4 separate regions of the Homo sapiens genome follow, and all the other regions are linked to region 2. The links are contacts of gene promoters, found by promoter capture Hi-C in human tissues and cell types (Jung and others, 2019). All regions are on one chromosome and are shown on one strand. The core of a region is centred on a gene start or on the middle of the fragment in contact, and the rest is flanking DNA. Distances in the headings are between cores, read along the strand shown.

Evidence for each region. Contacts are between HindIII fragments. The study calls those that stand out against the background at their distance.
Region 1: a fragment that was not itself captured here is called in contact with the fragment with the promoter of NOL11 in region 2 in 1 of the 25 tissues and cell types used here (small bowel).
Region 3: a fragment that was not itself captured here is called in contact with the fragment with the promoter of NOL11 in region 2 in 1 of the 25 tissues and cell types used here (H1 embryonic stem cells).
Region 4: a fragment that was not itself captured here is called in contact with the fragment with the promoter of NOL11 in region 2 in 1 of the 25 tissues and cell types used here (lymphoblastoid cells).

The regions. Positions count from the first base shown.
Region 1 is chr17:67,908,722-67,911,421 of GRCh38, reverse strand. BPTF (bromodomain PHD finger transcription factor) reads right to left here. Exons shown (of 28, transcript NM_182641.4): 10 at 1,661-1,840; 11 at 1-545. Among named protein-coding and RNA genes, the nearest start is that of BPTF, 85 kb to the right of the region's middle. The HindIII fragment of the contact is 6,108 bases long and covers 1-2,700 here.
Region 2 is chr17:67,716,486-67,719,185 of GRCh38, reverse strand. NOL11 (nucleolar protein 11) reads right to left here and starts at 1,250. Exons shown (of 18, transcript NM_015462.5): 1 at 1,098-1,250. The coding sequence starts at 1,238. LOC101928045 (a long non-coding RNA gene) reads left to right here and starts at 1,508. Exons shown (of 4, transcript NR_188294.1): 1 at 1,508-1,544. RefSeq lists enhancers at 1-77, 1,000-1,189, 1,260-1,339 and a silencer at 640-729. The HindIII fragment of the contact is 26,229 bases long and covers 1-2,700 here.
Region 3 is chr17:67,940,589-67,943,288 of GRCh38, reverse strand. BPTF (bromodomain PHD finger transcription factor) reads right to left here. Exons shown (of 28, transcript NM_182641.4): 19 at 2,633-2,700. Among named protein-coding and RNA genes, the nearest start is that of C17orf58, 55 kb to the left of the region's middle. The HindIII fragment of the contact is 4,368 bases long and covers 1-2,700 here.
Region 4 is chr17:67,483,744-67,486,443 of GRCh38, reverse strand. All of the region lies in intron 1 of PITPNC1 (phosphatidylinositol transfer protein cytoplasmic 1), which reads right to left. Among named protein-coding and RNA genes, the nearest start is that of MIR548D2, 14 kb to the right of the region's middle. The HindIII fragment of the contact is 4,234 bases long and covers 1-2,700 here.

The DNA of each region.
Region 1 (2,700 bases), core at 164-2,663, 190 kb before region 2:
ACATTTTGTTTCTGGGCTCCGAATGGAGACATCATCTAACACTCGATCTTTTGGATAAAGTTTGTTTGTGGTATGACTAGGATCACTCATTCTAAGAACTGAGGAATCACTTTCTGAACATCCCTGAATCAAGTCCTCAGGTTGATCATTATTTGCATTTGGGCTCTGTTCTTGTCTCATCGAGTCACTCTGACACCCTTCTTTTGCTTTCGTTATTACTGGTGATTCAGAGAGATTTTTTGAAGAATTTGTAGAAGTCTTTCCTATACCCTTAATTCCACCCTCCAACTTGATTTTTTCGAGTCGCTGTTTTTCTTCCAGTGTAAACTGTTTAATTCTCCTTTCAAGAAGTCCATCTAGTTTGGATGATTTTGTTTTCTTTTTGTAACTAGTCCTTAGATGAAAACCCTCACTAACATTGACCACATCTACTTGAGAACTCTCCTGACAATTTACATGTGACTCTGTTTTCATGTCATCGTCTACTTCCATTGGTTCTTCCTTGCAGGGTTTATCACTGTCAGAATCTAAGAGCTCCTTCACATCTGTGAAACAAAGACATTTATATAAATGTAATTTTTACTCTGAAAGGAGGAATTTATATATATATATTTTTTTTTTTGAGATGGAGTCTCACTCTGTTGCCCAGGCTGGAGTGCAGTGGCATGATCTCAGTTCACTGCAACCTCCGCCTCCTGGGTTCAAGCAATTCTCATGCTTCAGCCTCCCAAGTAGCTGGGATTATAGGCATGTGCCACCATGCCTGGCTTATTTTTGAATTTTCAGTAGAGACAGGGTTTCGCAATGTTGGCCAGGCTGGTCTTGAACTCCTGACTTCAGGTGATCCGCCCACCTCAGCCTCCCAAAGTGCTGAGATTACAGGCATGAGCCACCACGCCCAGCCAAAAATATTTTTTTAAAGTATCTCTAGCCACATGCATTATCTAGCTTATCTAGTTTTTTTTTAAAAATGACTTGTTACAAAAGACAATGTAGTTCCTCAAAAGGTTAAACAGAGTTACCATATGATCCAGTAATTCCATTCCTAGGTATATCGCCAAGAGAAGTGAAAACGCATGGCCACAAAAAACTTCTGCATGAATGTTCATAGCAGCATTATTCGTATAGCCAAAAGAGGAAACAGCCCAATGTCCATCAACTGATGAATGGATAACAAAATGTGGCATATCCATACAGAGTATTATTCAGAAACAAAAAGAAAGTACTGATAAATGCTACAACATGGATGAACCTTAAAACCATGCTAAGTGGATGAAGCCAGCCACAAAGGACCACATATTGTCTGATTCCATTTCTATGGACTGTCCAAAATAGGCAAATCCAGAGAGACAGAAAGTAGACCACTAAGCTGGTGGCACTTTCGGGAGGGGTTGGGAAGTAACTGCTAATGGGTATGAATGAGGCTTCTTTTCAAGGTTATGAAAATGTTCTAAGATTGATGTAATAATGGTTGAACTTTGTGAATATACTAAAAGCCACTGAATTTACACTTTAATTGGGTGAATTGTATGGGATATCAATTATGTTTTGATAAAGCTGTTATCAAGAAAACACAACGCAGTACCTTTCCTGTGGTGGGACCCTGATCCAGTGCATTCTTATCACCCCCAGGCTGCCCTCCACAGCTGACTCTCCTTACCTTGGTCCTTCTTCTCAGTAATCTTTGAGATATCCATTTCATTTTGGTCTGCTCCTTTTGCAGCATCTGAACCTTTTACCTCATCTTTTTCAGAATCAGGCTCTATTTTTATTTTTTTTGGACTTCGTGAACATTTTCTTTTATCTGACTCATCCATATTTTCATCCATATTATTTTTGGCTAAAAAGAACCATGTAACGATAATTTACGTTATTTCCAGAGTATTAGCACTTTAATATGTCAAGTTTAGTGAAAATAAACAAGTAATTTCCAGCAAGTTATGTTTCATTTTTTCATTTAAAAAAAAAAAAAAGACAAAGGTCTTATTGAGTATAAGGTACCATATAATCCTATATGCCTGGCTGACCTAAAACACAGAAGGAATGCCTGAACTTCAGACATTTCAGAAAACTTTGTGAACATTTTTGGTGAAATATGATTTAGGAAATTTGTTTTAAAACACTGCAGGATAAAAAAAAAAAGGGGGGGGGGGACCTGGTGCGGTGGCTCATGCCACTGCACTCCAGCCTGGGTGACAGAGTGAGGCTCTGTGTCCAAAAATTAAAAAAAAAACAAAAAACTGTGATTCAGTAACATAGTCAGCTACAAGATAAACATTAATACTATAGGCTGGTGCGGTGGCTCATGCCTGTAATCCCAGCACTTTGAGGGGCCGAGGTGGGTGCATCACCTGAGGTCAGGAGTTTGAGACCAGCCTGGCTAACATGGTGAAACCCGATCTCTACTAAAAATACAAAAATTATCTGGGTGTGGTGGTGCACACCTGTGATCTCAGCTACTCAGGAGGCTGAGGCAGGAGAATTGCTTGAACCCAGGAGGCGGAGGTCGCAGTGAGCTGAGGTCACGCCACTGCACTCCAGCCTGGGCGACAGAGTGAGACTCCGTGTCAACAAAAAAAAAAAAAAAAAAAAAAATTGTCAGTGACAACTGAAACAAGAGTGATAAAATTTGGATGGGTGTAGTGGCTTATGCCTGTAATCCCAGCACTTTGGGATGCCAAGGTGGGCGGATCACTTGAG
Region 2 (2,700 bases), core at 1-2,500:
CTCAAGTGATCCACCCACCTGGGCCTCCCGAAGTTCTGGGATTACAGGCGTGAACCACCGCGTCCGGCCAAACCTCTAAAAGGGTAGTTAAAATGAAAATATAACTAAGTTCCTAAATAAGTAAATAAGCAACCCTTTGTTAAAAAAACAATAGTACATTTAAAAATTGATTATATTATGCCTCTGCATGGGAAGTTATGCCTCTGAACAGCGGCATGGGAAATTAAGTAGGGACATCTGGGATCATGTCTATCCAATTCCAATCTGCCATTGTATTCCTATGCAGGAGCTGCAAAACTGCAAATCTACTTGACATCCCAAGTGAAACCCAATAGAGTTAGCAGAGTCAAAACGGCACAGGGAGCTGTTAGCAACCTGTTCTCAAAACGTCAAAGCAGATACCTAACTTCTTTAAAACATGGAAAACTATGTTCAGCAGCCCAGAGAAAAGTAACTGCTTTCTATGCGACCACCAAAAGCAAGGTTAGAAAGTGTTCTCTATCAGGCTTTAGGCTGAAATGGGGGCAGGGCTTGCAGATTTTCCCAGGACTCAACTCCAGGATTCCCAGCGTGAATCAGAGATGCCAACAGACAACTCACTTGGAGGCAAGATTCTTAGCGAGCTATCAAGAAAGTCCCTCACTCTCTAAAATTGTCCCCGCCCCTACAAAGAGAGGGGTGTGAAGTGTAGACACGGCTAAACCACTATTCCCACTCTGTCAGTGTCATCCTCTCCCGCCCAACCAATCTCCGTTCCATCCTCCCGCGGGCGGCTAAGATAATAAAGACCCTAGGAGGGAATCTTAGCAAGGCCAATTCCGCGAGTTCCGAAGCAAAAGCACAGGTTTTCTTTCTTTTCCGAGTCTAACCCACGTGCACTCAGACGCTCTGCCCCTGCAAGTCGGAAATATGCCTTTACAGGAAGGCAAGCAAGCCAGATTCCAGACCTCACTCAGCGTCCCCAACAGGCCCAGCCGGCTCTCTGCTAAGCCTTCTCCACGATCTCTTTCTGAAGCTGTGAGAAACTTGAGCTCGAGCTCCGCGCTCAGAAAGGGGCGAGAAGGCAGTCGGGGCGCTCCCAAACCTATTGCCTTCACCTTATAGAGGATGACTGTCCTGCCGCTGTCTGTCACTAGAAACTGGTCTGTTTTGTCGCTCTGCTCCACGCCTAGGAGTCCTTCAGGCCCGGCGCTCAGGACTACCGAAGACAACGTGAATTCTTCCTCCAGCGCTGCCATTTTGAGCAAACCTAAGTACGGCCGCGCTCACTCCCGGCAGGCCTCGCGCTTTCTCTCGCGAGAATGAACGGGCCTGAGGGGGCGAGTGCTTGCCAAACCAGGAACCTGCTCTCGCAGCCTGCGACCTCTGGCGGGCGGAAGGAGCGAGCGCGACTGTGAATTTAGCCAGGTGGGCTGGGCCGGCTTGCGTCAGACTCCGCCTCCCGAGACCACGCCTCGCCGAGTCCCGGATGTGCTCCAGGAAGGGATAGGGTAGGCGCGGAAGTGCTGCTTACTGGGTCCTGAATCGGCTGCGTGCTGTTCTAGGTGGGGACTTGAGAGACTGTAGATGGGTCTAGGGAGTGGTCGAATATAAATAAGCTAGATTTTTTTTTTTTTAATTGCAAGGGAACTCCCTAGGAATTCCATCCATGGCCTTGTGGAACGATCTGCCAAAGAAAAAATATTTATCTCTGTAGGTAAACTCCCAATAACGTGCTGTTCCTACGTGAAATGCTTAATTCCCCCCAAGTTTCTTGGAACCCTCTAGAGATCTCCAGTCTTTTCAGTCTTTCAGGCCTTCTGAGTTCTCTGACTCCCCTTCTCTGAGCCCCAGTGGGGAAAATCTCTCCTCAGCTTACAGGAAATTCAGACTAGTTTGATGAAGGTGAAGTTGAAGGTCCCCTGTGTGATTTTTGGCAAGGTTTTTATTTCCGGGAGAAATGTATGTTTCTCAGATAAGCATGGCAGATTCAATCAATAATGTTAAATAAATAAGTAAAGATAAATTGTGATGTTCTTAGGGAGAAACCATTTAATAGGCAATTACTAAACAAATGTACCCAGTGTGACAAAGTGCCTCAGTTTAGATTTAAGCATCCACCAGATCGCCATGTGTGTTGTTTCTCATTGCCCCAACATGACGACATGGGCAAAAGGAGAATATCCAGCTACTGTGAAGGAATCAAATGCAGTCTATTTTTATAATGCTAATAGGTCTTTTGTTGTTCAAAAGTAGTGGCATTATCATGGCTCACTGCAGCCTCTAACTCTTGGGCTAAATAAAGCAATCCTCCTGCTTCAGCCTCCCGAATAACTGGGACTACAGGCATCCATCACCACGCCCGGCTAATTTTTGTATTTTTTGCAGACATGGAGTCTTGCTTTGTTGCCCAAGGTGATCTTGAACTCTGATAATCTTTTAATTTTTAGGCTGGGTTGTGAGATCAAGAGGATATAGTTTATTATTATGCTTCATAACTTACTTTGTGATAGGTGGTAAGAAGAAAAACATTAAACTCAGAAGGGAGAGATAAAGCGTGGGTGTGTGGGGGAGGAAGGAGTGGTCTGTGTATGTGAAATTTTCACTAGGATGACCACAGGCCTCCTTGAGAGGATGTCTTTTTTTTTTTTTTTTTTTTTTTGAGACAGGGTCTTGCTCTGTCGCCCAGGCTGGAGTGACGCAGTCTCAACTCACTGCAAT
Region 3 (2,700 bases), core at 181-2,680, 220 kb before region 2:
AAAACTTATTTACTCTTGCTTTTCTAAAATACATTTTTTATGCACAAAATGCACAAAACACCAAGTATAATTTAAAAATTATAAAGTAAACATCTATAAAACCGCCACTGTGGTCACCATTGCCAGTGTCCTAGAAGTCCCCATATGACTCACCCGGATTTCAATTCCCTCCCTCTCCCCTAGAGGTAAGCACTATCCTCACTTTGATGATAACACTGTATTTCATTACTACTTCGGTATGTATCTTAGGTATATATAAGGCCACTGAGGTTCACAAACTCAGGAGCAATATTCACAAAGAATACAATGGGAATAGTGCCCCCTCCAGGCAGGCAATGCAGCAGCCCTGTATCCCTACACAAAATAGCTTAGTTTTGCCTATTTCTGAATCTTATACAAATGAAATTATAACATGTATTTTTTTTGGCAGCTACTTGCTTCTTTAGCTTACCATTATATATTTGTGAGAATCATCTGCATAGTTCTGTGTGGCTGAAGTCTATTCATTTTTATTGCTGTAGGAATATACTACAATTTACTTAGCTAACTGATTTTGATAGACACCTGAGTTGTTCTTAGTTTTTGATTCTTATGAACAATGCTGCTACCAATATTTATGCCATGTATTCTGGTGCTCACATGGCCAACAACTTCTCTAGGGATATACCTAGAAGGTATACTGGGACCTTGGGCATACACAGCTTTGACTTTACCAGACCATGTCCAGGAAGTTTCCAAAATGGCTGAACCGACTGATAGGCCCACCAGCTGTGCATGAGAATTCTTTCTGCTCTATGTCTTTGCTAACTCTTGGTTTTGTTGGACATTTAAATTTGTACCAATCTCTTAAGCATATGGTTTTAATATGTACTTCTCTCATTATTAATAAAGTTCAGCAGTTTTTTGGAATTTGGGACATTTAGATTTCTTCTTTCCTCATAATGTTGGTTTGTCCTTTTTTTTTTGTTTTTCTTTTTTTTGAGACGGAGTCTGTTGCCTAGGTTGGAGTGCAGTGGTATATCTTGGCTCGCTGCAACCTCTGCTTCTTGGGTTCAAGCAATTCTCCTGCCTCAGCCTCCCAAGCAGCTGGGATTACAGGCGTACACCACCACGCCTGACTAATTTTTGTATTTTTAGTAGAAACGGGGTTTCCCCATGTTGGCCAGGCTGGTCTGAAACTCCTGACCTCAAGTGATCCACCTGGCTTGGCCTCCCAAAACCTTGGCCCCCCAAAGTGCTGGGATTACAGGTGTGAGCCACCGCACCTTGCCTGTTTGTCTTTTTTCCTATTGATCTATCTGGATTTTTTTCTTTCTTGATTTGTAGTAATTCTTTATATATTCTGGATATGTAATAGTCCTTGGTTGGTTCTTTTCTCATTTTCTTCACTCTCTCTGTAGTGAGTTTGATGAACAGAGGTTCTTACTCTTATTTTTAAAGTAGTTGAATTTATAAATCTTTTCATTTATGGTTAGCATTTTCTATCTGTTTAGGAAAGCTATGAAGATATTCTTCTATCTTCTAAAGGTATTATAGTTTTACCTTTCACAGTTAGGACTTTCATCCTCCTGGAATTGAGTTTATGTAGAGTGAGGTAATAATGGTCCAATTTCACAGTTTCCCATGTATATTCAATTGTCCTGGCACCATTTACTGAAAAGTCATCTCTTCCTCAATGATCTGCAATGTCACCTTTGTCATATAACAAGTGTCCACATACATGGGGTTCATGTTCTGCACTCTCTACTGTTCTGTTGGTCTATCTGCCTCTCCTTATGTCTGTACCTCACTATATTAATTAGTGAAGTATTATATACTAAGTTTTTTGGTTTTTTTTAGATGAAGTCTTGCTTTGTCACCCAGGCTGGAATGCAGTGGTGCAATCTCAGCTCACTACAACCTCCGCCTCCCAGGTTCAAGCAATTCTCCTTCCTCAGCCTCCTGAGTAGCTGTGATTACAAGCGCATGCCACCACGCCCAGCTAATTTGTTTGTACTTTTAGCAGAGATGGAATTTCACCATGTTGGTCAGGCTGGTCTCAGACTCCTGACCTCAAGCAATCCACCCGCCCTGGCCTCCCAAAGTGCTGGGATTACAGGCGCAAGCCACCATGCCCAGCCTATACTAAGTTTTGATATCAAGTTATCATATATAGGGCAAATAATCCTGTTCTTCAAAGGTACAGATATTCTTAATACTTTGTACCTCCATATAAACTTTCAGTATCAGCTTGTGAAGTTTCACTAAAAACAAAACCTCTTGGGATTTTGATGGGAGCTGCATTCAATTTATTAATCAATATTAGAAGACTTGCTAACAATATCGAGTCTTGCAAGGAAGCAGCTTAATGTACTCAAATTTTATTTGTCTCATGGAGATTAGCCAACTAATAAAATTTTGGTGTTTAAAAGGGTTATCTGTCTCACTGTTTTAGCTCACTGTCTAAAGATTACTCTAGTAGTTGGGGTTTATTATATCCTGTCTAAGAGGTATTTCTGCTTGACTCCAGGAAGCAACCATTTCTTCAAATCAGCACATTTAAAAACGTATCAAAATAAGTTCATGTTTTTAAACTTACCGCAAGAATAAATAAGATCACCTCTAAAGTTAAAATAAAGCTTATGTTACTTACGTGGCCCTGTGTTAACTGAGTAAGTTGAGCCATGGTGAGCTTCACTTGTCCTTGTTGGGGGCGAGGGG
Region 4 (2,700 bases), core at 88-2,587, 230 kb after region 2:
TAGCAAGACTACATACAGACTTGCCATAGGAGGAAGAAGAGGTCTATTTTTCTACATTACTCATTAAAGGCAGGCTAAGCATCAGATGTAATAGAATAGCCTATTCCTTCCTTTGCCCACAGCGAGACTTCAACTCATGAAAACACCACCATCAATATATATTGAGTGTTCATTATATATATATAGCCCAAGACTAAGATAATATACTCTATTTCAAAACACTGCCAAAACTCCGAGAACATTTTTTGGCACATTTAAACAGCAGAATGACCATAAATTATGTAAAGGGAGAATTTTCTGAGTACATGTCAGGAAAAAATAAAATAAAAACCTCTAGCAGCAGAATTTAATGCTTAATAACTCTCATGCTAAAGTTTCAGTTTAATCAATTGTGACTTTTGATATTTTATTTAATGCGTCTAAGGAGCATCACCAGAAGAAATTTTAATACTATTGCTTCTAAATTCAATTAGAATGCTTACATTTTTATGTTAGGGTAACATTTGCAGAGCCATTCTTTAATACGCAAGTTATTAAATCCCACGGTCCCTTAATCCACATTGCAGACTAATCTAATGCATTTAAGCCGCCCCCAGAAGACAGCCTTCAGCTTGTGGCTCATACAGCGTGATAGCTTTTGCTCTTTTTTTGACCGAAGAAGTCATTTTTCTTTCCTCTTGACATCTTAAGAGTCATCTTTAATAATGTTTTTCTGTAGTTCCAATGTCCCTCAACTCCTGATCTTACAGACTAAATTGGCAAGTCAGTTGTTCTTCCGTAGAAAGATCTAACTAATTGGCCGGGTGCGGCGGCTGAGACCAGTAATCCCAGCACTTTGGGAGGCTGAGGTGGGTGGATAGAGACCAGCTTGGCCAACATGGTGAGACCCCATCTCTACTAAAAATACAAAAATTAGCCAGGGGTGGTGGTGAGTGCCTGTAATCCCAGCTACTCAGGAGGCTGAGGTAGGAGAATCGCCTGAATCCAGGAGGCGGAGGTTGCTGTGAGCCAAGATCACACCACTGCCTGGGCGACAGAGCAGTGCCTATGTCAAAAAAAAAAAAAAAAAAAAATCACCCAACTAATGATGACTCTCAGTACACAATTCTAGTTCATGGCCTAGCAGATACCCTAGTGCAAAATCCACAAATCCGGAATGAAAATGTAAGCATCCATGCCTTCCAGCATGCTCCATGCTTTTCCCACTGCGCTCATGGTAAATGCTCCCCATGGCATCACCACCGGGAACCAAACACATGCATACATACGTATATGAAGACAGTTTAGCCAAGTGGTTAAGAGTGAGGACCCTGTGGCTACACTGCCCAGGTTCAAATCCTGGCTCTACCACTCCTTACCAACCTCAGGGAAGTCACTTGACCTTTCTGAGTTTTCCATTTCCCTATTTGTAAGATGGAAACGCTAGTCATAATCAACTTTCTTGGCACAACGATCAAGAGTCAAAATAAACCAATATGTAAAAATGGTTTTGGAAGTTTTTTTTTTGAGATGGAGTCTCGCTCTGTCACCCAGGCTGGAGTGCAGTAGCATGATCTCAGCTCACTGCAACCTCCATGTCCCGGGTTCAAGCGATTCCCCTACCTCAGCCTCCAAAGTAGCTGATATTACAGGCACACACCATCACACCTGGCTAATTTTTGTATTTTTAGTAGAGTCTAGGTTTCACCATGTTGACCAGGCTGGTCTCGAACTCCTGACCTCAAGTGATCCGCCCACCTCGGCCTCCCAAAGTGCTGAGATTACAGGCATGAGCCACTGTGCCCGGCTAGAAGTTTTCATGAAAATCTTTACTCTGATTTCTTAGGGGATTGGATAAATATTTTCACAGGTCCAGACCAACTGGCAAAGTTAAAAGCCAGCAAGTTCTAAGTTAGGGCTCCACTGCCTTAAATAGTTTTCAGAACAAGGTCAGATGTAAATTAACAATGACAGAAGCCCTGAGAGAATTATACAAGCTTATGTGGCGACTGAGCTAGAGATGAATGATTTGATGCGAAGTCAAGACGGTTCCAATTTGGACTAACAAAACCTTTCAACAGAGGCTTATGATTTTAATATGGAAAAAGTTGGCTATAAATGATCTCAAGCTTAACAGAAATCTAATTAGGCAAAGTTAGAGAGTAGGAACCAACAACAACTCTCTGAGCTGGGTCTTATGCACATCTCACAGGCAAGAAAATGGAATGAAGAAAAGCGTTATTAACAGGCTGGGTGTGGAGGCTCGCCCCTGTAATCCCAGTAATTTGGGAGGCCAAGGCAGGCGGATCATCTGAGGTGGGGAGTTCGAGACCAGCCTAACCAACATGGAGAAACCCCGTCTCTACTAAAAATACAAAATAAGCCAGGCATGGTGGTACATGCCTGTAATGCCAGCTACTTGGGAGGCTGAGGCAGGAGAATCGCTTGAACCTGGGAGGTGGAGGTTGCAGTGAGCCAAGATCATGCCACGGCACTCCAGCCTGGGCAACAAGAGCAAAACTCCACCTCAAAAAAAAAAAAAAAAAGAAAGAAAACGTTAGCAAGGGTGAAGGGAGAATGGTTATTGCATGACAACCAACAGTGCTGGCTGCGTTATGAAACTTCTCCTCTTCAGGCATAAACGAAGCTGTATTTTGAAATTTAAGAGCTATATGTTTTTCAGGTAGAAAAACTTAAGTGTGGAATTACCAAGTCCCCCCA